Linked DNA regions of Homo sapiens: all the other regions are linked to region 1. Evidence: promoter capture Hi-C in human tissues and cell types (Jung and others, 2019). All regions are on one chromosome and are shown on one strand. The core of a region is centred on a gene start or on the middle of the fragment in contact, and the rest is flanking DNA. Distances in the headings are between cores, read along the strand shown. Region 1 holds the start of ZNF84 (zinc finger protein 84). Region 2 has its middle 22 kb from the start of ANHX. Region 3 overlaps ZNF268 (zinc finger protein 268). Region 4 overlaps CHFR (checkpoint with forkhead and ring finger domains). Region 5 holds the start of ZNF268 (zinc finger protein 268). Region 6 has its middle 16 kb from the start of CHFR-DT.

Region 1 (3,968 bases), core at 827-3,326:
CTCATGCACAACCCTATAAGGCGTTTAACATAATCTCCATTTTACAGAGAGAAAACTGGGACAATGAGTGATTGTAAAATGTGCCTGTGATTGCACATTTAGTAAGTAGCAAAATTCAAATGTTAATTCTCTATCCTGCTATGTTCAAAGCATGAATACTAAAGTCATATTGTCATTTGTGCATATCTACATGCACAAACACACACAACATAAATCCTGGAGTCAGCTCCTATTCCCATGCACACATTCAGTCACTAATTCCCACAAAAATATAAATGAAGGACGCCCTGCCTCAACTGTATCACACTAACAAGCAGCACTTTCTTTTTCATGCCTTTTTGTGGTTCAAACTTCAGTGCCAACTCAGAAACACACAGCAGTTTCTCCCAGTTATACAAGAAATGACTCCTTTATACCTTAAATTGTGATAATACATAAATCTTAGAACAAAAGCTGGCACACAGTCATACGAAACATATACTAGCTATAATTATTATTATAAAAGTAATATATGATGGCAAAATATAAAAAACATACACAAGCTAAATAAGAACTATTATCTATGATCTCACCACAGGTAACCATTCTTAGGATGATGGAAACTATTGTGATATTTTTCATACAATGGAAGCATATGGTCATATTTAAAAGCTGTTTTTGTTTTTTTCCCATTATGTGAAGAACATCTTTCCAGGTCAATAACCTTATTTCTGTAAGATATAAACAACTCACATAAAATAACAAAAAAATAAAATCCGACTCATAATTGACAAAATACATAAAATATGTAGGAATATCAAGACCCATATGAAGCATACTAAAAACACCAATGAGAACTATAAAAATAGAATTAAAGAAATTTATAATTCGATTTTATTCTGGGATAGGAAGACTTCAGATTGTGAAGATAATTTGACCTCAAATGATTTATATAACTCATCGACTCCAATCAGAATCTCAAAATTCTAAAGTTTATGTGTAAGAAAAAAGGTTCAAGAACAATTCGGACACTTTTTTTTTTTTTTTGACAGGGTCTTACTGTGTTGTCCAGGCTGAAGTGCAATGGCATAACCATAGCTCACTGCAGCCCTGAACTCCTGGGCTCAAGTGATCCTCCTACCTCAACCTACAGAGTAGCTGGGGCTACAGGCATGCCCTACCACACCGGGCCTGGATGCTTTTGGAAATACAAAATAATGAGTGTGAACAGGCCCACTGTAATACATACAAATTATAATCATTATAACATTTGACACTGGCTCCAGAGAAGTTATACAGATGAAAAAAAGCAAACTGTCTAAATATGCAAGAGTCAGCATGCAATAAATGTAGCATTTCAAAGCCATCAGTAAAATTAAATTATTTAATGAATACAAGAATATTTGAAAGAAAATAAACGTAGCTATTTCATACAACTACTTTCAGTGGGTTAAATTTTAAAATAATGGAAACCCTAAGAATGTCTACAAAAAAAAACCACAGGTGAATGAATATATGTATAATTTGAGGGGAGATTTCGCTACACCATACCAAAAGCAAAAGTCACTTAAAAAATTTAAAACAGTCAATAAATATAACCATTAAAAAATACACGGCCAGGAATGGTGGCTCACACCTGTAACCCCAGCGCTTTAAAAGCCTCCTTCGATAGCGGCAGAGCCAGGCTGCTGGTGGATGCGGTCCAGCAGGGCAGCCGCTCCTTAGGGCCACGGCGCGGCAAGCGGGCTGGCCCGAGGTCGAGGCTAAACGCGCCCGAGGCTAAACGCGCCCGAGGCTGGCGCCTCCACGCCCGCCTGAAAGGACGCCCAGGAGCGGCGCCTCCGGAAAGGCCGTGCCCGCCCCACAGCCCAGAATCCGCGCAGCTCCGCGGCCCACGGCATCTTCACGACCCGGCCCAGCCCCAACCCGCCCCAGACCCGCATCCGCGCGCGGACGCCCAGGGCCTTGAAGCCGAAGCTCCCCGCGGCCACTCCCGCGCGCCTCCCCCGCCATTCCCGGAGCCCCCAGCGCCGGGCCCGCAATAAACTCACTGAACTCACAAAAGACGCCGCCGCCGAGTCGCGCCCGCGCGCCCGCGGCCTCGCGATCACGTGACACCGCCCGTCCCCCGTGTCCCGCGCACGCGCCCAAACCGTCGGCCTTTGTGCGCTCCCGGGCGGCTCCGAACGGGCCGGGACGAGTCGGGGACTGCACACGCGCACACTCGCACGCGCGCACACGCGTACACTCCCCTCTCACGTGGCAGCGAAGGACAAAGAGGAAGAACGGGCCACCTGCAAGCATTACCAAGAGTGCATGTGCGCATGCGCGAAGGAAGGAGCCCCGCGAACTCAACTTCCCACAGTGCCCCGCGTCCGGAAGTGCCTGTCGCTTGGAGACGGAGTGACTCCAAACGGGCTCACACGGTTTTCTGAGAAACATAAAGGGAAACCGAATCCACCAATATATATATATATTTTCTTGAGACGGCGTCTCGCTCTGTCACCCAGGCTGGAGTGCAGTGGCGTGATCTCGGCTCACTGCAAACTCCGCCTCCCGGGTTGACGCCATTCTTCTGCCTCAGCCTCCCGAGTAGCTGGGACTACAGGCGCCCGCCGCCACGCCCGGCTAATTTTTTTGTATTTTAGTAGAGACGGGGAGTCACCGTGTTGCCCAGGCTGGTCGCGAACTCCTGAGCTCAGGCAATCCGCCCGCCTTGGCCTCCCAAAGTGCTAGGATTACAGGCGTGAGCCACCGCGCCCGGCCCACCAATACTCAATTGGTTTGACTTCAGTTGAGGAAACCAGAAAAAATTTAAATATATTTATGGAAAGAAGGTAAGAATTAACAGAAAAAAGTAAAGTTGATCCATAACTGGAGTCGTAGGGAGAATTATAGGTAAGTCACGATGCTTATGACAGCAAGATGGGGCCGGGGAGATGGAGGAGAGAGATGAAAAAAGAGAAATAACCATAGACACATAGGAAATTGAATGAAAATCCGCTCTATACTAATAAATTTGATAATTTGTGACACAAATGATTCTCCAGGACAACATGGGCCAAATTTGACCCAATTTTATCCACAATTTGAAGACAAATTCAGAGATCCTTTGCCAGAAAGCATCATAATGAGTTGCTTAGTGAATTGCTTCAAACATCCAGTGATTAGAGAATTCTTATATTTATTCCCAGAGGTAGAACTCACCAGTGAAGTACTAGCATAAAAACAGACGCATGGACCAATGTGGAACAGCGTAGAAAAACCAGAAATAACCCCATGCATATACAGTCAACTAATCTTAGGCAAGTCAACTAATCTTGTGTCAAGAATACACGATGGGGAAAGGACAGTCGCTTCAATAAATAGCGTGAGGAAACCGGATATCCAAATACTGCTACGCAAAAGACCTCATTGCCCGATGTGCACAGAAGCCAATACTATGGCACCAGGCGTTTGAGAAAAGAAAAGCTTAATTGCGAGTTGACCAACAAAGTGACAGGAGTTTAGTTCAAATCTATCTCTCTGTGCTGCCCTTAAGGCAGCACTATTGTGAAAAAAGGTTTAGAGGGTGGATTCTGGGATTCACAGGTGAATGGTGAAGGAAAAAGGAAGTCTGGAAAGTCCCCGACCATGTGCAGTTGTCTCTTCAAGCCTCTTCTTGGGTCCCATGTGCAAATTAAGGTAGAGTTAGTGTGAAAAGTGCAGTGGAAATTCAGGCTGCGACATCAGCAAGCTCATTCTGCATGGACTCCGTTTGGTTATATTGGTTTCAACTGATTTCAGCCAGTTGTATTATATTACAAACGGAGTTTCAGCAAACTGTTTCTTATCTGCCATCCTGTAAGCTCAAGAATTTCTGTTAGCCGGACGCGGTGGCTCACGCCTATAATCCTAGCACTTTGGGAGGCCGAGGCGGGCAGATCACCTGAGGTCAGGAGTTCGAGACCAGCCTGGCCAACATGGTGAAACCCTGTCTCTACTAAAAA
Region 2 (3,968 bases), core at 1,031-3,530, 220 kb before region 1:
CTGCACCTGGCCAAACCTCTTTTCTTTATAAACTACCCAGTGTCAGGTAGTTTTTTTGTAGCAATGTGAGAACGGACTAATACAATGACCAAAACTTGAGGATGGCAAGGGCATCTGAACTGTGACATTATGAACCCAAGGTTCAAGATCCTGAAGTTTTGCTGCAATGGGGATGGCAAGGGCATCTGAACTGTGACATTATGAACCCAAGGTTCAAGGTCCTGAAGTTTTGCTGCAATGGGGATGGCAAGGGCATCTGAACTGTGACATTATGAACCCAAGGTTCAAGGTCCTGAAGTTTTGCTGCAATGGGGATGGCAAGGGCAGTCTTTATCTGATGTTGTTCTTAGAAGACCCAGTCTCTAAGTTCTAGATTGTGAAGGGTTTGATTGTCCTCGGTCAGTAGACCATAAAAAAGATTTCTTTACCTGGTGAAAATACATCTTGACATAATGCATTAAAGCCTTGCAGCATTTAGTTATATCAGAGTTCAGTAGTGGAAGATAAATGAGGTTGTATTATTAGGGGAATAGGTCTTCCAGTGACTATTTTGTAAGGTATCACCTTATGGTTTACACTGGAAGTAGATCTGATTGCCATTAATATAAAATACCTTTGACCAAAGCAATCCAGTCATTTCAGTTAGCTTTACCAAATGTTGTCGTATTTATAATACCTTATTTAACTGCTTTAAAATTTGTCCAGTGAAACAAGTACTTCCATCACTGGAGATTTCTTCAGGAATGTCCCATGAGGAAAACACATTTTCTAATAACCTTTTTGCTACTGTTATAAAATTAGCCCTCTAGCATGGAAAAGTTTTTTCGGCCTAAAAATATATATATTTTTAATTTGGATCATTTTATTTCTTAGATAATGAGTCATGGAATGCAGAGATTTTAATAACAAAAGCTTTAAGGACTCAGGAAGATGAGGCAGCTGCTCTCCAGGAGCCCACACTTAACATTGGACTTATATCCTCTTAAATACTGATTGTTTCTCCAATTTAGGTGCATAGCACTGATAACCAATAGATTATCATGGGTAATTTGACTTTGACCATGGAGTTCATTTAAATTGCATATCTTAACAATTTAAGTACTAGCTGATTTAGCATGAACATCTGGCAAAATATTTTCTTGGTATTCAATTAGTTTTTTTCCTGCCTGGCTTAGTAGTTTTATAAACCAGCCAGTCTCTTCATTAGAGTTCCAGGAATTTTTACCCAATCCAAACGATGTGGTCCTAAAGTTATTAGAAACTTGTGTTTGAGAGCTTGTGTCAGGGTTCTTTCCATCCTTTCATGAATCTCCTTAAAGACACCATATTCTAGGATTTTATGTGCTTGTGAAGTTTTAAGAAACTGCATCAGAATTAAGCAATTAACTGTGGAAATGAATTTAAATGGTCATAAAGACAATTGAAAAGGAAATTTGGTTATTTCTGTGGTTTACAATAACTCAACATAATAACCAGAATTATGACTGATAGCATATACCCAGACATATTAGGATTTTAGAAATCCCACATAACTTTGGAACATATATTAATAACATATTCTTTAAGATATAACTTAAGAAGGTTAAGCCATCCTTTCTTGTTTGATAATGCTTCCCATGTAATTTCACATGTCAAATAATCCGTTTATCTCCCTTTTGGATGCTTCAGGGGACCTTTGTAGCATCCCAAAGTTAAAAGGTGAAAAAAGACTTAACTTTGAAGTTGAAATTTGATTTTTAGAAAGCCAATCAAATATGTCAAAGGTTTAAAACACTTTACCAAAATAAGATCACAGGTCACCATAAAATAATAGTCATTCTTTTAGCCAAAGTGATAATTAAAGGATTTTTTAAACAAAAACCTGTACTCTTTGAGAGAGGAGACTCAGTTTTCCAATCAAAAGATCTCAGACAGCATGAGACAAATTCTGTCTCTTCTCTTTTCTCTTATCTCTGTCTTTCTCTTTGCAGTTTACTCAAAAGGTGAACAAAAATATTTTACTTTGTCTTATTAACACTACATGAAATTTTTGTTCAGAAGAGAAAAACTAATTTTATTTTTGTATTAGTGCACTATACATATAAAGCTAATATTTAATAAAATCTTATAAATAAATCAAGTCTGTCATCTTTTGAACACATAAGATTTCTATAAACTCTATAAACCTTTTGTGTTTTATACTTTTCCCTAACTTTCTATATTTATCTAGTTTTATCTTTTTTTACTCCTTCAATTTGAAACCTTTAAGTAACTTCAAACTAGACAAGTTTTTTTAGCAAACACACATTTTTATGCCTTCATAACTTTCCCCATCAAAAGCATGTCGTGTTTTTGTTTTTGTTTTGTTTTGTGTTTTTGAGACAGGGTCTCACTCTGTCATCCAGGCTGGAGTGCAGTATTGTGTTTACAGCTCCCTGCAGCCTCAACCTCCCCAGGCTCAAGCAATCCTTCCACCTCAGTTCACCAAGTAACTGGGACTATAGACCCATGGCGCCCTGCCCAGCAAAAAATTATATTTTATAATTTTTTAAACAAAATATAATAATTTTTTAAACAAAAAATTATAATTTTTTAAACAAAAAATTATAATTTTTTAAACAAAAAATTATAATTTTTTAAACAAATTTTATAATTTTATAATTTTTTAATTTTTTAAACAAAAAATTATATTTTATAAGCACAGAGCTAAGCCTTTAGGCCTAAATAATGTATTATTTGGTCAAACAAAGGAAAAAAGGTGTAAGTAAAAGTTCACTTAAGACAAGATGGCCAGAAAAGAACTTTAAACAAAGGTATGATTTGTTGTGTGAATTTAAAAAAATGGTAAGAGTTTCTAATATACATACACAGACACCATAAAAATGGAGATTTCCTTTATAACTGTGAAATTATTTCACAAAAGGATTTAAAGGTAGCCAGCTAAATTCCAGAAAGGTGTACTTTAGTTTGACAGGTGGTCTTTTTTAACTTTGCTACTGTTTCTTAGCTGAAATTACTGAGTTTATGATGGAGGCCCTTAAAGAATAGGGCAAAGAAAGCACTTTCTATGCCTGGACTCAGCATGGAGAGATCTGAAAGAGAAGCAAGAACCTACTTTACCTGAGAGCTTACCTTTTAAAAACACTCTATCTAGGATAACTTTCTTTTCACCTTCGAGGTAGGATGATGACCAAGCCAAAAGGTTAGCAAATTTAATGTTTCTTATCAATTAGTCACTTGAGCTTTTTATTTGCTTTTTATAAAGAGTCTTTAAATAAAAATACTGAAATCTTTTTAGAAGCTTCTGCATATCAATAGGTATCCCTAGATGAGACTAATTCAGGAGCCCTCATTTTCAAGTGCACTTCTTCAAATGCAGTGTTGTTCATTTGAAATGTTCCACTGTAACTTTCACACTGAGCAATTCACACTGCGGATTGGATCTGTGTCCCCACCCAAATCTCATGCCAAATTGTGGTCCTCAGTGTTGGAAGAGGGACCTGGTGGGAAGTGACTGGATCATAGAGGCAGACTTCCACCTTGCTGTTCTTGTGATCATGAGTGTGCTCTCATGAGAACTGCTTATTTAAAAGTGTGTAGCACTTCCCCCTTTGCTCTCTCTTCCTCCTGCTCCAGCCACATAGAATGTCTCCTTCCTCTTTGCCTTCCACCATGATTGTAAGTTTCCTGAGACCTCCTCAGCCATACTTCCTGCACAGCCTGTGAACCATGAACCAATTAAACCTTTTTTCTTTATAAATTACCCAGTCTCAGATAGTTCTTTATAGCAATGGAAGAATGGACTAATACAGTGAGCTAATACCTAAATGACCCTCATTACTTTTGTTGAAAGAAAAGGCTTGGAAACTATCTGATCAGCATGGGATTTGTCACTCAGTCATCTCAGTCACTTCCCTGGATCAATATTTGTATTTTCAATTTGCCGTTAGTGTGCAGAGGCTGCACCTCCATCCCAAGTGCATCTGAAG
Region 3 (3,968 bases), core at 1,024-3,523, 170 kb before region 1:
CCTCACCTGTATGAACTTTTTAAAAAAAGGTATGACTTGCTGCTAAAAATTTTCAGAGTGGTTACTAAATTCAGTTTTCCTGTGTATTGTCTACTATCTTTTTGCATGTAAAGAACAGCTTTCTGTGGATGCCTTTCCATATGCTGTGCATTCATAAAGTTTCTATTCAGTATGAGTTTTCTGGAAGATGACAAGATGATTCCACTTACAGAGTTTCTCTTTATATATGATTGTTTCTATCTCTTGTGAATCCACTTTTCAGAGTTTCGTAAAATTATCAATGTTTGTCATCTACATGAGTTCTCTGATGCATAATGAGCTGTGACTTCCAACAAAAGGCTTTCCCACATTCAGTGCACTTACAAGGCTTCTCTCCTGTATGTGTTCTCTGATGTGCACTGAGAATTGATTTTTGAGAGAAGGTTTTCCCACATTCATTGCACCCATAGGGTTTCTCTCCTGAATGAGTTCTTTGATGTACAATGAGTTGAGAATTCCTAATGAAGGCTTTTCCACACTCACTGCATTCATATGGTTTCTCTCTTGTGTGCATTCTCTGGTGTACAAGAAGGCGTAATTTCCCACTGAAGGATTTCTCACATTGACTGCATTTATAAGGGTTGACCCCTGCATGAGTTCGCTCATGTACAATGAGTAGTGATTTCCAAATGAAGGCTTTCCCACATTCATTACATTCATATGGTTTTTCACCTGAATGAGTTCTCATGTGTATAATTAGGTATGACTTGCTGCTAAAAGCTTTCCCACATTCACTGCACCCATAAGGCTTTTCCCCTGCATGAGTTCGCTGATGTGAAATGAGCTGGTCTTTCCTATTAAAGGCTTTCCCACATTCACTGCATTCATAGGGATTTTCTCCTGTGTGAATTCTCTGATGCACAATGAGTTGTGAATTGAAACTAAAGGATTTCCCGCATTCCCTGCACTCATGTGGTTTCTCTCCTGTATGAGTTCTCATATGTATAATAAGGTATGACTTGCTCCTGAAGGCTTTCCCACACTCACTGCATCCATATGGTTTTACTCCTGTGTGACTTCTCTGATGTACAATGAGCTGGGACTTCAAACTAAAGGTTTTTGCACATTGACTGCATCCATAGGGTTTTACTCCAGTGTGCACTCCTTTATGTACAATGAGCTGTGATTTGAACGTAAAGGCTTTTCCACATTCATTACAACTATAGGGTTTCTCTCCTGTATGAGTTCTCTGATGTACAATCAGGTTTGACTTTGTATTAAAGGCTTTCTGACACTCACTACATTCAAATGGTTTCTCCCCTGTATGAGTTCTCTGGTGTATAATAAGCTGTGACTTTAAACCAAAAGCCTTTCCACAGTCGGTGCATTCATAAGGCTTCTCTCCTGCATGAGTTCTCTGGTGTGAAATAAGCTGGTATTTCCGACTGAAGGCTTTCCCACATTCATGGCATTCATAGGGGTTCTCTCCTGTATGAATCCTCTGATGTATAATGAGCTGTGATTTAAAACTGAAGGCTTTCCCACAATTGTTGCATTCATGGAGTTTTTCTCCTGTATGAGTCCTTGTATGTATAATAAGGTATGACTTGCTCCTGAAGGCTTTGCCACATTCATTGCATACATAAGGTTTCATTCCTGTGTGACTTCTCTGATGTACAATGAGCTGTGATTTCAAACTGAATCCTTTACCACACTGAATACACCCATAGGGCTTTACTCCTGTGTGAATCCCCTGATGTACAATGAGCTGTGACTTGAATGTAAAGGCTTTTCCACAATCACTACAAACATAAGGTTTCTCCCCTGTATGGGTTCTCTGATGTACCATAAGGTTTGACTTTGTATTAAAGGCTTTCTGACATTCATTGCATTCATATGGTTTCTCTCCTGTATGAATTCTTTCATGTATAATGAGCTGTGATTTTAAACCAAAAGCTTTCCCACATTCATTACACACATATGGTTTCTGTCCTGAATGAGTTTTCTGGTGTGAAACAAGCTGGTCTTTCCTACTGAAGACTTTCCCACATTCACAGCACTCATAGGGATTCTCACCTGTGTGAATTCTCTGATGTATAACAAGCTGTGAATGGAAACTGAATGTTTTCCTGCATTCACTGCATTCATGTAGTTTCTCTCCTGTATGAATTCTCTGATGTACAATGAGGTATGATTTACTACTGAAGTCTTTCCCACATTCATTACAACCATAGGGTTTCTCTTCGGCATGAGTTTGCTGATGCACTAGAAGGTATGACTTGCTGCTGAAGGCTTTCTCACAACAGCTGCATCCAAAGGGTTTTTCGCCCATATACATTTGTTGGCACATAAGTTGCGATTTCTTATTGACGGTTTTTCCAGATTCAATACTTTCACAGTATTTTATTCCAATAACAGTTTGCTCATGTTTAGAATGGAAGAATGATTTTCCATGTACCTGAAACCCATTAGGATTATTTCTAGCATAATCACTAGTGAAATCTATATATTTCAAACTCTTTCCATGCGTGCCACATTTATGAGGTTTTTGTCTTGAAAGATACTTTGTACTAAGAAGACATAGTTTTCCAAATGTAGTGCATTCAAAGCTTTTTGCCGTACTTCCCAGCTTGTCTTTATTTTCCTGATGCCAATCCATAAGATCATCAATTTTCCAGACTGTGTCTAGAAATGAGAACAATTGGTCACATGTTATAAATCACATGATTGCGGTATACTAGAAAGTTGCCTATGAAATAAGAACAATTAGTCACATGTTATAAATCACATGATTGTGGTATACTAGAAAGTTCCCTGTGAAATGCCATATCATGAGGTTTTTAGTTTCAGATATCAGATCTGAATATAAATAAATTCTCAGGTATAAAAACACTCAAACTACTGGGTACTGAGAAAAAGAAAAACCAAACTGAAGATAGGCATAGTAAACTGATAAGAAGTTTAAAAGTTTTGCATATTGGATAAAGAAGGCAAAATAGGCAAAAGGAACAATGAAGATAATATAAACATGTCATTAGGGATCTATGAACATTAGATTTATTCAAAAAATAATTAAATACCTACTATGTGCCAAACACTATGCTAACTTCTAGAGAAATGGCAGAGAACAATGCAGATTACTTCCCAGTCCTCCTGGGAATAACATCTCAATACCTAGTAAATGGATAAAAATAAACTGAGAGGGAACATCATTCCTTAACAGGACAAGAAGCAGTTCTTAAAACCATCCAGAGAAATCAAAACTGAAACAAAAACAAAGCTTTCTACAATGTAACAAAAATTAGAATGCCATCAGACTTCTCTTTAGGAAAACTAGAGGACAGAAAATAGAGCAATGAGGAATAAAGTCAAAACATTTTCAGATGCACAGGTCTCAATGTTTGTATCACCCTTTTCCAGGAAGCTACTCTTGAGTTGCTCCAAGAAAAGAAATGACAGAGGATATAGAAAATAAAATCAAAGAGGAGATCCCAGGATAAAAATTGCACAGCAGGCCTTAAAAAAACTAAGCTACTCTGAAGCAAGTCAGAAAAACTTAGCAGTCAATATCACTAGGAAGAAAAAAGGAATACAATTAATAATTTGGCTGAAAGTATCAGCCAAGAATATTCAGATACTGAAAGGAGAGTCTGGAATTGAATACATGATGAAAACATTAATGGTAACAAAATTAAATTAGCAAAAAATTAACTACAGAAAAAATACAAATTTAGAAACAAAAATAAATCACTGTATACTTGCATGATTTCCCTATAAACAGGAATTACAGTCATACCAACATAAAAACTAAAGACAGATTTAACCAAAAATATGAAATAACTGTATCAGAATGATGGAGGCATGGGAACATGAGAAGAGACATGTCTCCATCATGAGTGTGTATATGGTGGGAAGGTATGGAGGGAGGAGAGTGAAAGAGAAGTAAATTACCTTTCTATACTGAGCAATCATTAGGGGAGAAAGCCAAG
Region 4 (3,968 bases), core at 1,015-3,514, 160 kb after region 1:
TTGCCCTGTCGCCAGGCTGGATTTGCAGTGGCGCAATCTCAGCTCACTGCAACCTCCGCCTCCCGGGTTCAAGCCATTCTCTTGCCTCAGCCTCCTGAGTAGCTGGGACTACAGGCACGTGCCACCATGCCCGGCTAATTTTTTTGTATCTTTAGTAGAGACGGGGTTTCACCATGTTGGCCAGGATGGTCTCAATCTCTTGACCATGTGATCCGCCCGCCTCGGCCTCCCAAAGTGCTGGGATTACAGGCGTGAGCCACCGTGCCCGGCCCGTGGTCAGTATTTTCAGCCAATTCTTATTTGGTGTGTAGTGGTATTTCATGGTTTTAATTTGCATTTCTCTGAAGATTAATGATGTTGAGCATTTTGTCATGTGCTTAATTTGCCATCCATATCTCTTCTTTGATAAAGTGTTTAAATTGTTTTAAGTTGCATTATTTACTTTCTATTTATTGAGTTATCAGAGTTCTCTATACATTCTGGATACAAGATCTTTGTCAGATATGTGTTTTACAAATATTTCCACCAGTCCATAGCTTGTCTTTTCATCTTTTTAAACAATATCTTTGAAGAACAGATTTTTACTTTTTTTTTTTTTTGAGATGGAGTCTCGCTCTGTTGCCAGGCTGGAGTGCAGTGGCACGATCTCAGCTCACTGCAACCTCCACCTCCCATGTTCTCCCACCTCAGCCTCTCAAGTAGCTGGGATTACAGGTGCATGCTACCATGCCCGGCTAATTTTTTGTATTTTTAGTCGAGATGGGGTCTCATCCTGTTGGCCAGGCTGGTCTCGAAGTCCTGGTCTGAAGTGATCCGCCCGCCTTGGCCACCCAAAGTGATGGGATTATAGGCGTGAACCACCGCCCCCAGCCTTACTTTTTTTGTTGTTGTTGAGCCAGAGTCTCGCTCTGTCGCCCAGGCTGGAGTGCAGTGGCGTGATCTCGGCTCACTGTAACCTCCGCTTCCTGGGTTCCCACCATTCTCCTGCCTTAGCCTCCCGTGTAGCTGGGATTATAGGCGCCCGCCACCATGCCTGGCTAAGTTTTGTATTTTTAGTAGAGACTGGGTTTCACCATGTTGGTCAGGCTGGTCTTGAACTCCTGACCTTGTGATCCGCCCGCCTCGGCCTCCCAACGTGCTGAGATTACAGGTGTGAGCCACCACGCCTGGCCCAGAATTGACTTTTTTTTTCTTTTTTTGAGTCGGAGTCTTGCTCTGTTGCCCAGGCTGGAGTGCAGTGGCACCATCTTGGCTCACTGCAAGCTCCACCTCCTGGGTTCACGCCATTCTTCTGCCTCAGCCTCCTGAGTAGCTGGGACTACAGGCGCCCGCCATCACGCCCAGCTAATTTTTTGTAGTTTTGGTAGAGACGTGGTTTCACCATGTTAGCCAGGATGGTCTCGATCTCCTGACCTTGTGATCCGCCCCCCCCTTGGCCTCCCAAAGTGCTGGGATTACAGGTGTGAGCCACGGCACCTGGCCCACATTTTACTTTTGACAAACCTCAGCTTATTATTATTATTTTTTCCTGGTTTGTGCTTTTTATATCCTATCTGCGAAGTCCATGCAAGACCCAACGGCACTAAGATTTTTGCCTGTCTTTTCCACTGGAAGTTTCATAGTTTTAGATTTTACATTTGTCTCTGTCTGGCCATCCTTACACAGCCACAATACTGTATTGTTTACTATAGCATGATGGTAAGTCAGTTAAGTAATATGAGTCTTCCAGCTTCATTCTTTTTCAAAATTGCTTTGGTTTTTCTACACGTTTTTTCTGTGAACTTTAGAATCAGCTTGTCAGTGTCTACAAGCCCTCTGGGATTTTGACTGGAATTGCATTGAATGTATGAAACAATCTGGAGGACAGCTGACATTTTAACAATACTGAGTCTTCTGATTCACACACCCATAGGTCAGTGATGGGAGCAAGGCTCAGGCTAAAGCAGATTCAGGGTGTCTTTCTGTGTGGAACGTTTAGGAAAAGTATGTTTGCATGCCACTGTCTCCTGACCAAACCCTTCGCTTTTTTGTCTTCTAGTATCTTTATGTATCCTTATAGATTATTATAGGCAGTAATGATTAATGATGAGATATTAAAACGCCTTTGTTCTTTTGATTTAAGGAGAGGGCAAGTATTGAGGATTTTCCCTCTTGCTTTTGTATTCAGGGCCGGGCGCTGGTGGCTCACGCCTGTAATCCCAGCACTTTGAGAAGCCGAGGCGGGCATATCACGAGGTCAAGAGATCGAGACCATCCTGGCCAACATTGTGAAACCTCATCTCTACTAAAAATACAAAAATTAACTGGCCCTGGTGGTGTGCGCCTGTAATCCCAGCTACTCAGGAGGCTGAGGCAGGAGAATCGCTTGAACCCGGGAGGCAGAGGTTGCAGTGAGCTGAGATCGTGCCACTGCACTCCAGCCTGGGCCACAGAAAGAGACTCCGTCTCAAAAAAAAAAAAAGAAAAAAAAAATCCCAAAGTGTCAGAATTACTGTATTCAGCTATAGATGCATCCCTGTATATAAGATGCAGTTTCTTATACGTGTACAAATGCCTATCGCAGGCCAGGTGCGGTGGCTCAAGCCTGTAATCCCAACACTTTGGGAGGCTGAGGCGGGTGGATCAAGAGGTCAGGAGTTCAAGACCAGCATGGTGAAACCCCGTCTCTACTAAAAATACAAAAAATTAGCTGGGTATGGTGGCGCATGCCTGTAGTCCCAGCTGCTCAGGAGGCTGAGGCAGGAGAATGGCTTGAACCTGGGAGGTGGAGGTTGTGGTGAGCCGAGATGGTGCCACTGCACTCCAGCCTGGGCGACAGTGCGAGACTCCATCTCAAAAAAAAAAAAACAAACAAAAACAAAAAAAAAAACAAATGCCTATCACAGTTGGCTCAGTCACTTTTTCTGTGACTGTCATTGCTTCAATTTTATGTTGATTTATGAAACCTAAGTTTACACAGAAAAGAAATTAAGGACTAAATTAAGATACTGAAGAATTACTTAAGCCCCTGAGTTTTTTTTTTTCTTTTTTTTTTTTTGAGACAGAGTCTTGCTCTGTCACCCAGGCTGGAGTGCAGTGGCGCCATATCGGCTCACTGCAAGCTCCTCCTCCCGGGTTCTCGCCATTCTCCTGCCTCATCCTCCTGAGTAGCTGGGATTACAAGGCGCCCGCCACCACGCCCGGCTAATTTTTTGTATTTTTAGTAGAGATGGGGTTTCACTGTGTTAGCCAGGATGGTCTCGATCTCCTGACCTTGTGATCTGCCCGCCTCGGTGTGAGCCACCGGACCTAGCCAACCCCCTGAGTTTTTTTAAAGTTCTAATAATACTCATCAGGTTAGCTGTGTATGCAAGCATATTGTAAAATTGCTTTTTTTTTTTTTTATTTCCAGTTGGAGTCTAGCTCTGTCGCCAAGGCTGGAGTGCAGTGGCGCGATCTCAGCTCACTGCAACCTCTGCCTCCTGGGTTCATGCGATTCTCCTGCCTCAGCCTCCCAAGTAGCTGGGATTATAGGCAACCGCCACCATGCCCAGCTAATTTTTGTATTTTTAGTAGATATGGGGTTTCACTGTGTTGGCCAGGCTGGTCTCGAACTCCTGACCTCGTGATCCATTCACCTCAGCTTCTCAAAGTGCTGGGTTTACAAGTATGAGCCACTGCGCCTGGCTGTAAAATTGCCATTTAAGAGGCTGTGTGTAACTGGAGGTATTGATGGGTGTCTTTGAGAGGGTGGGGATTCAGAAAGGTTCAGGATGGGCCGGGCGCGGTGGCTCACGCCTGTAATCTCAGCACTTTGGGAGGCCAAGGTGGGCAGATCATGAGGTCAAAAGATCGAGACCATCCTGGCTAACATGGTGAAACCCCGTCTCTACTAAAAACACAAAAAATTAGCCAGGCGTGATGGCGGGCGCCTGCAGTCCCAGCTACTCTGGAGGCTGAGGCAGGAGAATGGTGTGAACCTGGGAGGC
Region 5 (3,968 bases), core at 388-2,887, 140 kb before region 1:
TTTGTAATTTCCAAAATAAGGTTTAAAGATCCCAGATACAGAAGGCCCTCAGTAAATAAAGGCTGAAAAAACTGAAAGATGTGTGAGTATCCCTTGTTTAACTCCAAAGTTCAGCGTACAAAGTTGTTAGAAAAGAGATTGATGAAAGGAGGAAAAAAGGAAGTCGGATGACAAGAAGCATTTCTGGAAAGTCTAACATGCTATAAATGACGATCCAGTTGCCTAAAAGAGCGGTGGGGTGAGAAAGCTCCTGGCAAATTCAGACTGGAGTAGATGGAGTGCGCACACGTTGGCATTCAGGGAGAGCTTTTCAAGAATGAAAGAAAACCCCTACTCACCCAAATAGAAGCTGTCCGGACCCTGGTGGCCATCCCTACGGTCAGTTTTGTGTGCCTCGCTGGAAGTGACAGGACGCGAGGGATGCTAGAAGAGAGAGCACAGTGAAGAAAGAGGTCACCCAGCAGTCCCCAAACCCAGAGGGGGAGGGTCCGAGGCACCAGGGCTGCCTGCCATTCTCGGAGCTGAGGCTCCTTCCCTCCCACAGCACGGGATTCACCATCTCCACACCCTCACCAACACACAGGTTAGGGTCAGGCAACCGCCCCGGGTCAGCAGCAGGAGAGAGCTAAGGCAGATTAGTTCTGTCCCGTCCCGCCGCCTTGAAACCGGAGGAATTCCGCACCTCCGGCTCCTCCAAACCCTGAAGGGGCAGCAGAATAGAGTCCAGGGTACTGCCTCCACCTCCAGATCTGCAGCCAGAAGGGTTCGCAACCACTCCAGACTCGGCTGGCCCGTTGACCACGACGGGCGATGAACGCTATCTGAGGAACAAGGATCTCGCCATCGGCGCGGAACAATGGCGGCCGCTACGTATGTCGCACAGGAATTGCGTCATGGAGAGGCAAAGGCAAAAAAACTACAACTCCCAGAGGCCTCTGCGAGGAGTTACTCCCGCGCCGGAGGGCTCCGGCCAAGGGCCACCGGGAGGGGGCGTGCTAAGATGACCCGGAAGCTCAGGCCTTCCTGGCCAGGTCCCTGAGCTCCCGCGCTTGCAGGTTTTAAATTTTAAAGAGAATTAAAATACTTGACACCAATGGCTCAACGGTTGGAGGGATGTAAATTAGGTTACAAGTGTTCTAGTCCCTGCTTTACTGAAATGGTAAAAGTCTTATTTTGCTTTACACTTTAATAACAGATTCGTAAAATTCCCATTACATGTTAACATAAATAATATTTTAATGAAAATTACATATATTTTACAAAAGAAAAAATTTAGTAAGGAGTGGCTTCGCTTTTTAAGTCTTTTCTGACTTACTAGAAAGCTGGATTCTCATATCTGCTTCTATGTTTAATCTGTTGCGTATGTTGTTTTTGTTAAAGTATATAAAGATACAAGTCGAACAAGGGATAGTTTTGTTAGTGTACAATCTGAAACCACGTAGATGAACTTTTTCTACTCTATTACATAAAATCCGTTGGTCTACACTGCACTTTGAATGGATTCTTTTATCACGCATGATTTCGTAACATCATGTATTGGCCAGTTGGAAAATATTGGTTTACTTTAATGGCAAAAGCCGCAATTACTTACTTTTGCACCAACGGAAAATATCCACTAATCATTATTGATCTTAAGTATTGGGAAGAGGTGACATTCACAGAGGCAGATACAAGTTTTCTAGAATTCTTTTGTTTTTGGCTTTTAAAAACTTTTATAAATTTATGAGGTACAAGTGTAATTTTGTTACATGCATCAGTTGTGTAGTGGTGATGTCAAGGCTTTTAAGGTATCCACGCCCTATAGTACGTTATATGCATTGTACCAGTCAGGTAATTTATGATTATCCCTGAAACCCCCCCACACCTTTTGAGTCTTCATTGTCTATCATCCCACACTCTACATCCATGTGTACATATCCTTTAGCTCATACTTAAAGTGAAAACATGTGTTTTTCTTTCTGTGCCTGAGTTGTTTCACTGAAGATAGTGGCCACTAGTTCCATCCATGATGCTGCAAAAGACAATTTCATTCTTTCTTATGGCTGAATAGTATTCCATTGTGTATATATAACACATTTTCTTTATTCATCCATTCATGGACATTTAGGTTAATTCCATACCTGTGATATTGTGAATAGTGCTGTGATAAACATATGAGTGCAGGTATTTTTTTTATATATATAATGATTTCCTTTGGGTAGATACTCAGTAACAGGATTGCTTTATCAAATGGTAATTCTATTTTTAGTTCTTTGAGAATTCTCCACACTGTTTTCCATAGGTTATACTAATTTCACTTTCTCACCAACAGTGTATAGGAGTTTCCTTTTCTCCACATCCTCACCAACATCTTCTTTGTCTTTTTATTTTTATTATTTTATTTTATTTTTTGAGACGGAGTTTTGCTCTTGTTACCCAGGCTAGAGTGCAGTGGCCCGATCTCGGCTCACCGCAACCTCCGCCCAGGTTCAAGCAATTCTCCTGCCTCAGCCTCCTGAGTAGCTGGGATTACAGGCATGCACCACCACACCCGGCTAATTTTGTATTTTTAGTGGAGACAGGTTTCTCCATGTTGGTCAGGCTGGTCGCAAACTCCCGACCTTAGGTGATCCGGTCACCTCAGTTTACCAAAGTGCTGGGATTACAGGCATGAGCCACCGAGCTCGGCCTGTTTTTGTTTGTTTTGATTTTTTTTTCCTTTTGAGACGGAGTCTCGCTCTGTCGCCCAGGCTGGAGTGCAGTGGCGCGATCTGGGCTCACTGCAAGCTCCGCCTCCCGGGTTCACGCCATTCTCCTGCCTCAGCCTCCCAAGTAGCTGGGACTACAGGGGCCCGCCACCACGCCTGGCTACTTTTTTGTATTTTTTAGTAGAGACGGGGTTTCGCCGTGTTAGCCAGGATGGTCTTAATCTCCTGATCTCGTGATCTGCCCGCCTCGGCCTCCCAAAGTGCTGGGATTACAGGCGTGAGCCACCGCACCCGGCCCGGCCTGTCTTTTTAATAACAGCTACTGTGACTGATGTAAGATAATATCTCTTTTTTTTCCCCCACAACCTCGCTCTGTCGCCCAGGCTGGAGTGCAGTGGCTTGATCTCGGCTCACTGCAACCTCCGCCTCCTGGGTTCAAGCAATTCTCCCCGCCTCAGCCTCCCAAGTAGCTGGGATTACAGGTGCCCACCACCATGCCCGGCTAATTTTTGTATTTTTTATGAGAGACGTGGTTTCGCCATGTTAGCCAGACTGGTCTTGAACTCCTGATCTCAGGTGATCTGCTCACCTCGGCCTCCCAAACTGCTGGGATTACAGGCGTGAGCCACAGCGCCCGGCCTCATTGTGGTTTAAATTTGCATTTCTCTGATGTTTAGTGATGATGTTGAGCATATTTTCATATGCCTGTTGGCCATTTGTATGTCTTCTTTTGTAAAGTGTTATTTGTGTTCTTTGCCTGCTTCTTAATGGGATTATTTGGGTTTCGTTGTTGTTGTTGATCTGTTTGAGTTCCCTGTAAACTCTAGATATTAGTCCCCTCTTGTATGCAAAGCTTGCAAAAATTTTCTCCCATTCTGCAAGTGTCTCTTCACTCTGCTTACTGTTTATTTCACTATGAAGAAGATTTTTAGTTTAAGTCCCATTTCTCTCTTTTTCTGTTTGTTGCATGTGCTTTTGAGGTCTTAGTCATGAATTATTTACCCAGACCAATGTCCAGAGGGGTTTTCCGTAGGTTTTCTTCTAGTATGTTTATAGTTTCAGGTATTCCATTTAAGTCTTTAATACAGCTTGAGTTGATTTTTGTATATGGCGAGAGATAAGGGTCAAGTTTCATTCTTCTGCATATGGCAATCCAATTTTCCCAGCACCATTTATTGAAGAGGTTGTATTTTCCCCATGCTTGTTCTTGTTGACTTTGTCAAAGATCAGTTGGCTGTAGATATGTGGCTTTATTTCTGGGATCTCTATCTGTTCCATTGA
Region 6 (3,968 bases), core at 1,043-3,542, 130 kb after region 1:
TTATTATTCAGGGTTGTATTTACAATTCTAGGTTTACAAACAGTTTGTCAACATCTACGAAATTAATTGCGGGGATTTTTGTCGGAGCGGCACCAACTCTACAGTTGGGAAGAATTGACATCTTAGCAATATTGTGACTACAATAATGAAAAAGGAGTATGCTCCGGTTATGTTTTCCTTTTTTTTCTCTCTTTCTCTCTCTTTCTTTTCCGTCCCTCCTTTCCTTCCTTCCTTCCCTCCCTCCCTCCCTTAAGATAGAGTCTCCCTCTGTTCCCCCGGCTGGAGTGCAGTGGCCCCATCATGGCTCACTGCAACCTCCCTCTCCAGGGCTCAAGCCATCCTTCCATCTCAGCCTCCCGAGTAGCCGGGACTACAGCCGCACACCACCAAGCCAGTCTAATTTTTGTATTTTTAGTAACGACAGGGCTTGGCCATATTTCCCAGGCTCCTCTGGACTCCTGACCTCAGGCGAGCCCTCTGTGCTCCGGACCTTCCGGAGTGCTGGGATTACAGGTGTGAGCCACTGCGCCGGCCTACGTTTTCTTTTAATAGTGTTTCATAGTTTTCTGGATACAGATGGTTTCATATTTTGTTAGAGCAAGGATTTCTTGGATTTGTTGTATCCAAGGATTTCTTTTTGTTGTTTTATTGCAAACGGTAGGCCTTTAAAGTTTTCCAGTTTCAGTTGACTTTAATATATTGGCTTTGTACTTTTGCTTCTTGTTACCTCCCCCACTCCTATCAAGCCACAGAAGAGGAGGCTCCACCGCACTTTTGATCTCCAAAATTATAGTTTAGGAGATACGGTTCAGAAAAGAGCGGGGAGGCGCGCTTCTTTCGCTGATGGGGTGCGCTCAGCTCCTGCGCTGCCCCTGGTGGCCGGCAGGGCGCGCCCAACCCTACGATTGTGGCTCGTGGCGCGCATGCGCATTCCGCCCGCGGCGTCGCCACAGGGTGAGGGAGCTTGGCTTCCTGAGAAGCCACCCAGGAGCCCCGGCTTGGGGATGACTTGAGGCCGCGTCTTCGGTGAGGAAAAGCTTCCCAGAGGAACTCTGCCGGGGAATCTCTAGAGTCATTGTCCTTTTTTAAAAATGTTTTTATAGGCCGGGCGCGGTGGCTCTCGCCTGTAATCCCAGCACTTTGGGAGGCCGAGGCGGGTAGATCATGAGGTCAGGATATCCAGACCAGCCTGGCCAACAAGGTGAAATCCAGTCTCTACTAAAAATACAAAAATTAGCCGGGCGTGGTGCCGCGCGCCTGTAATCCCAGCTACTCAGGAGGCTGAGGCAGGGGAATTGCTTGAACCTGGGTGGCCGAGGTTGCAGTGAGCCGAGATCGTGCCATTGCACTCCAGCCTGGGCAACTTGAGCAAGACTCCGTCTCTAAATAAATAAATAAATAAATAACGTTTTTTCGCTTTTTTTTTTTTTTTCTCTGAGACAGAGTCTGTTTCTGTCGCCCAGGCTGGAGGTGGTTTCGGCTCACTGCAACCGCCGCCTCCCGGGTTCAAGCGATTCTCCTGCCTCAGCCTCCAGGGTAGCTGGGATTACAGGCTCCCGCCACCACGCCCAGCTAATTTTTGTATTTGTAGTAGAGATGGGGTTTCACCATCTTGGCCAGGCTGGTCTTGAACTCCTGACCTTGTGATCCATCCGCCTCGGCCTCCCAAAGTGCTGAGATTACAGGCATGAGCCGCTGTGCCCCGCCATGCGCCGCATTTTCTTTCTTTCTTTCTTTTTTTTTTTTTTTTTTTGAGACGGAGTCTCGCTCTGTTGCCCAGGCTGGAGTGCAGTGGCGCGATCTCAGCTCATTGCAACCTCCACCTCCCGGGTTCACGCCATTCTCCTGTCTCAGCCTCTCCAGTAGCTGGGACTGCAGGCGCCCGCCACCACGCCCGGCTAATTTTTTGTATTTTTAGTAGAGACGGGGGTTTCACCGTGTCAGCCAGGATGGTCTCGATCTCCTGACCTCATGATCCGCCCGCCTGGGCCTCCCAAAGTACTGGGATTACAGGCGCCGCATTTTCTTATCCATTCATCTGTTGATGGACATTTAGGTTGCTTCCAAATCTTGGCTGTTGTGAACAGTGCTGCAGCAAACATGGCAGTGCAGACATCTCTTAGACATGCTGATTCCCTTTCCGGTATCTAGCCATCAGGGATTGCTGGAGCTTGTGGTAGCTCAATTTTTAGTTTTCTGAGGTACCTCCAAACAGTTCTCGGTAGTGGTTGTACTAATTTACATTCCTTCCAACCGTGTATGAGGGTTCCCTTTTCTCCACGTCCACCAGAGACACTTTCCTTAAATTCATAAGCAGAGATTCCCTCATGTTCTGGAATGTTCCCATGCGTTATTCTTTACTTTCTCTGGAAAGTAAAGATCTCGGAGTGAGATCTGTTTTAGGCATTTCCCTTCACAGAGGGGTTGGCAGCGGGAAACAGAGAGCACCTGGTGTTTCCTTAATCAGGATTGTTCTGGGAGGAAATCCATGCAAGTCCAGAGAAGTGCGTGGCCCAGGTGAGACTTGCAGAGAACAGTGTTCGTGCCTACAGCTTGGGGAGTCTGGGAGAAGGAAAATGAGCACTCCTGTGGATGTGCTTTATTCATTTCTTCCTGTCTTATTTTCCCTACAGGGTTAAAGTAGTTGTAAAGAAGAAAGTTTTGCAAAGTACATGTATTAAAACTCAAAACATTAGGCCAGGTGCAGTGGCTCATGCCTGTAATCCCAGCATTTTGGGAGGCTGAGGTGGGCAGATCACACGGTCATTAGATCGAGACCATCCTGGCTAACACGGTGAAACCCCGTCCCTACTAAAAATACAAAAATTAGCCGGGCGTGGTGGCACGCGCCTGTAGTCCCAGCTACTCGGGAGGCTGAGGCAGGAGAATTGCTTAAACCCAGAAGGCAGAGGTTGCAGTCAGCCGAGATTGCGCCATTGCACTCCAGCCTGGGCAACAGAGCAAGACTCTGTCTCAAAATAAAAAATAATAAAATAGAATAAAAATCATTATTTCCACTTAAAATAGTTCATAGCGGCTGGGCACAGTGGCTCACACCAGTAATCCCAGCACTTTGGGAGGCCAAGGCAGGCAGATCACCTGAGGTCAGGAGTTCAAGACCAGCCTGGCCAACATGGTGAAACCCTGTCTCTACTAAAAATACAAAAAAAAGCAGCTGGGTATGGTGGTGCATGCCAGTAGTCCCAGCTACTAGGGAGGCTGAGGCAGGAGAATCGCTTGAACCCGGGAGGCAGAGGTTGCAGTGATCCCAGATCCCGCCACTGCACTCCAGCCTGGGCAATAGAATGAGACTCCATCTCAAAAAAAAAAAAAAAGTTCATATCAAAAGGAAAATATAGGCTGCTCTGCCTGTGGAGTAGCTATTCTTTTGTTTCTTTACATCTCTAATAAACTTGCTTTCACTTACAAAAAAAAAAAAAAAAAAAAAAGGAAAATCCTAGCACTCTGGGAAGCTGAGGCAGGCAGATCACCTAAGGTCAGGAGTTCGAGACCAGAATACAAAAATTAGCCGGGTGTGGTGGTGCATGCCTGTAATCCCAGCTACTCAGGAGGCTGAGACAGGAGAGTTGCTTGAAACTGGGAAGCGGAAGAGGTTGCAGTGAGCCGAGATCATGCCACTGCACTCCAGCCTGGGCAACAGAGCAAGACTCCATCTCAAAAAAAAAAAAAAAAGGGCTGGGCACGGTGGCTCATGCCTGTAATCCCAGCAGTTTGGGAGGCCAAGGCAGGCAGATCACCTGAGGTCAGGAGTTCGAGCCCAGCCTGGCCAACATGGAGAAACCCTGTCTCTACTAAAAATATAAAATTAACTGGGTGTGGTGGCACATGCCTGTAATCCGAGCTACTGGGGATGCTAAGGCAGGAGAATCGCTTGAACCAGGGAGGTGGAGGTTGTGGTGAGCCGAGATTGCGCCACTGCACTCCAGCCTGGGCAACAGTAGCGAAAC

Evidence for each region. Contacts are between HindIII fragments. The study calls those that stand out against the background at their distance.
Region 2: a contact is called between a fragment that was not itself captured here and the fragment with the promoter of ZNF84 in region 1, in 6 of the 25 tissues and cell types used here (H1 embryonic stem cells, IMR-90 fibroblasts, dorsolateral prefrontal cortex and 3 more).
Region 3: a fragment that was not itself captured here is called in contact with the fragment with the promoter of ZNF84 in region 1 in 11 of the 25 tissues and cell types used here (H1 embryonic stem cells, adrenal gland, dorsolateral prefrontal cortex and 8 more).
Region 4: a fragment that was not itself captured here is called in contact with the fragment with the promoter of ZNF84 in region 1 in 2 of the 25 tissues and cell types used here (IMR-90 fibroblasts and lymphoblastoid cells).
Region 5: a contact is called between a fragment that was not itself captured here and the fragment with the promoter of ZNF84 in region 1, in 3 of the 25 tissues and cell types used here (dorsolateral prefrontal cortex, hippocampus and spleen).
Region 6: a fragment that was not itself captured here is called in contact with the fragment with the promoter of ZNF84 in region 1 in 2 of the 25 tissues and cell types used here (dorsolateral prefrontal cortex and thymus).

Annotation. Positions count from the first base shown.
Region 1 is chr12:133,035,617-133,039,584 of GRCh38, reverse strand. It overlaps ZNF84 (zinc finger protein 84), which reads right to left and starts at 2,076. Exons shown (of 5, transcript NM_001289971.2): 1 at 2,040-2,076. ZNF84-DT (ZNF84 divergent transcript) reads left to right here and starts at 2,363. Exons shown (of 3, transcript NR_110091.1): 1 at 2,363-2,816. RefSeq lists a silencer at 1,970-2,149 and an enhancer at 2,370-2,459. The HindIII fragment of the contact is 8,441 bases long and covers 1-3,968 here.
Region 2 is chr12:133,255,618-133,259,585 of GRCh38, reverse strand. No RefSeq gene overlaps it. Among named protein-coding and RNA genes, the nearest start is that of ANHX, 22 kb to the right of the region's middle. The HindIII fragment of the contact is 4,704 bases long and covers 1-3,968 here.
Region 3 is chr12:133,200,840-133,204,807 of GRCh38, reverse strand. It overlaps ZNF268 (zinc finger protein 268), which reads right to left. Exons shown (of 6, transcript NM_003415.3): 6 at 1-2,664. The coding sequence ends at 278. Among named protein-coding and RNA genes, the nearest start is that of ZNF268, 21 kb to the right of the region's middle. The HindIII fragment of the contact is 4,114 bases long and covers 217-3,968 here.
Region 4 is chr12:132,877,889-132,881,856 of GRCh38, reverse strand. The region is part of intron 2 of CHFR (checkpoint with forkhead and ring finger domains); the gene reads left to right. Among named protein-coding and RNA genes, the nearest start is that of CHFR, 7.7 kb to the left of the region's middle. The HindIII fragment of the contact is 8,676 bases long and covers 1-3,968 here.
Region 5 is chr12:133,178,401-133,182,368 of GRCh38, reverse strand. ZNF268 (zinc finger protein 268) reads right to left here and starts at 874. Exons shown (of 6, transcript NM_003415.3): 1 at 683-874; 2 at 339-423. The coding sequence starts at 371. RefSeq lists enhancers at 487-686, 727-1,036, 632-1,156. The HindIII fragment of the contact is 5,070 bases long and covers 1-3,968 here.
Region 6 is chr12:132,901,856-132,905,823 of GRCh38, reverse strand. No RefSeq gene overlaps it. Among named protein-coding and RNA genes, the nearest start is that of CHFR-DT, 16 kb to the right of the region's middle. RefSeq lists an enhancer at 3,897-3,968. The HindIII fragment of the contact is 3,833 bases long and covers 376-3,968 here.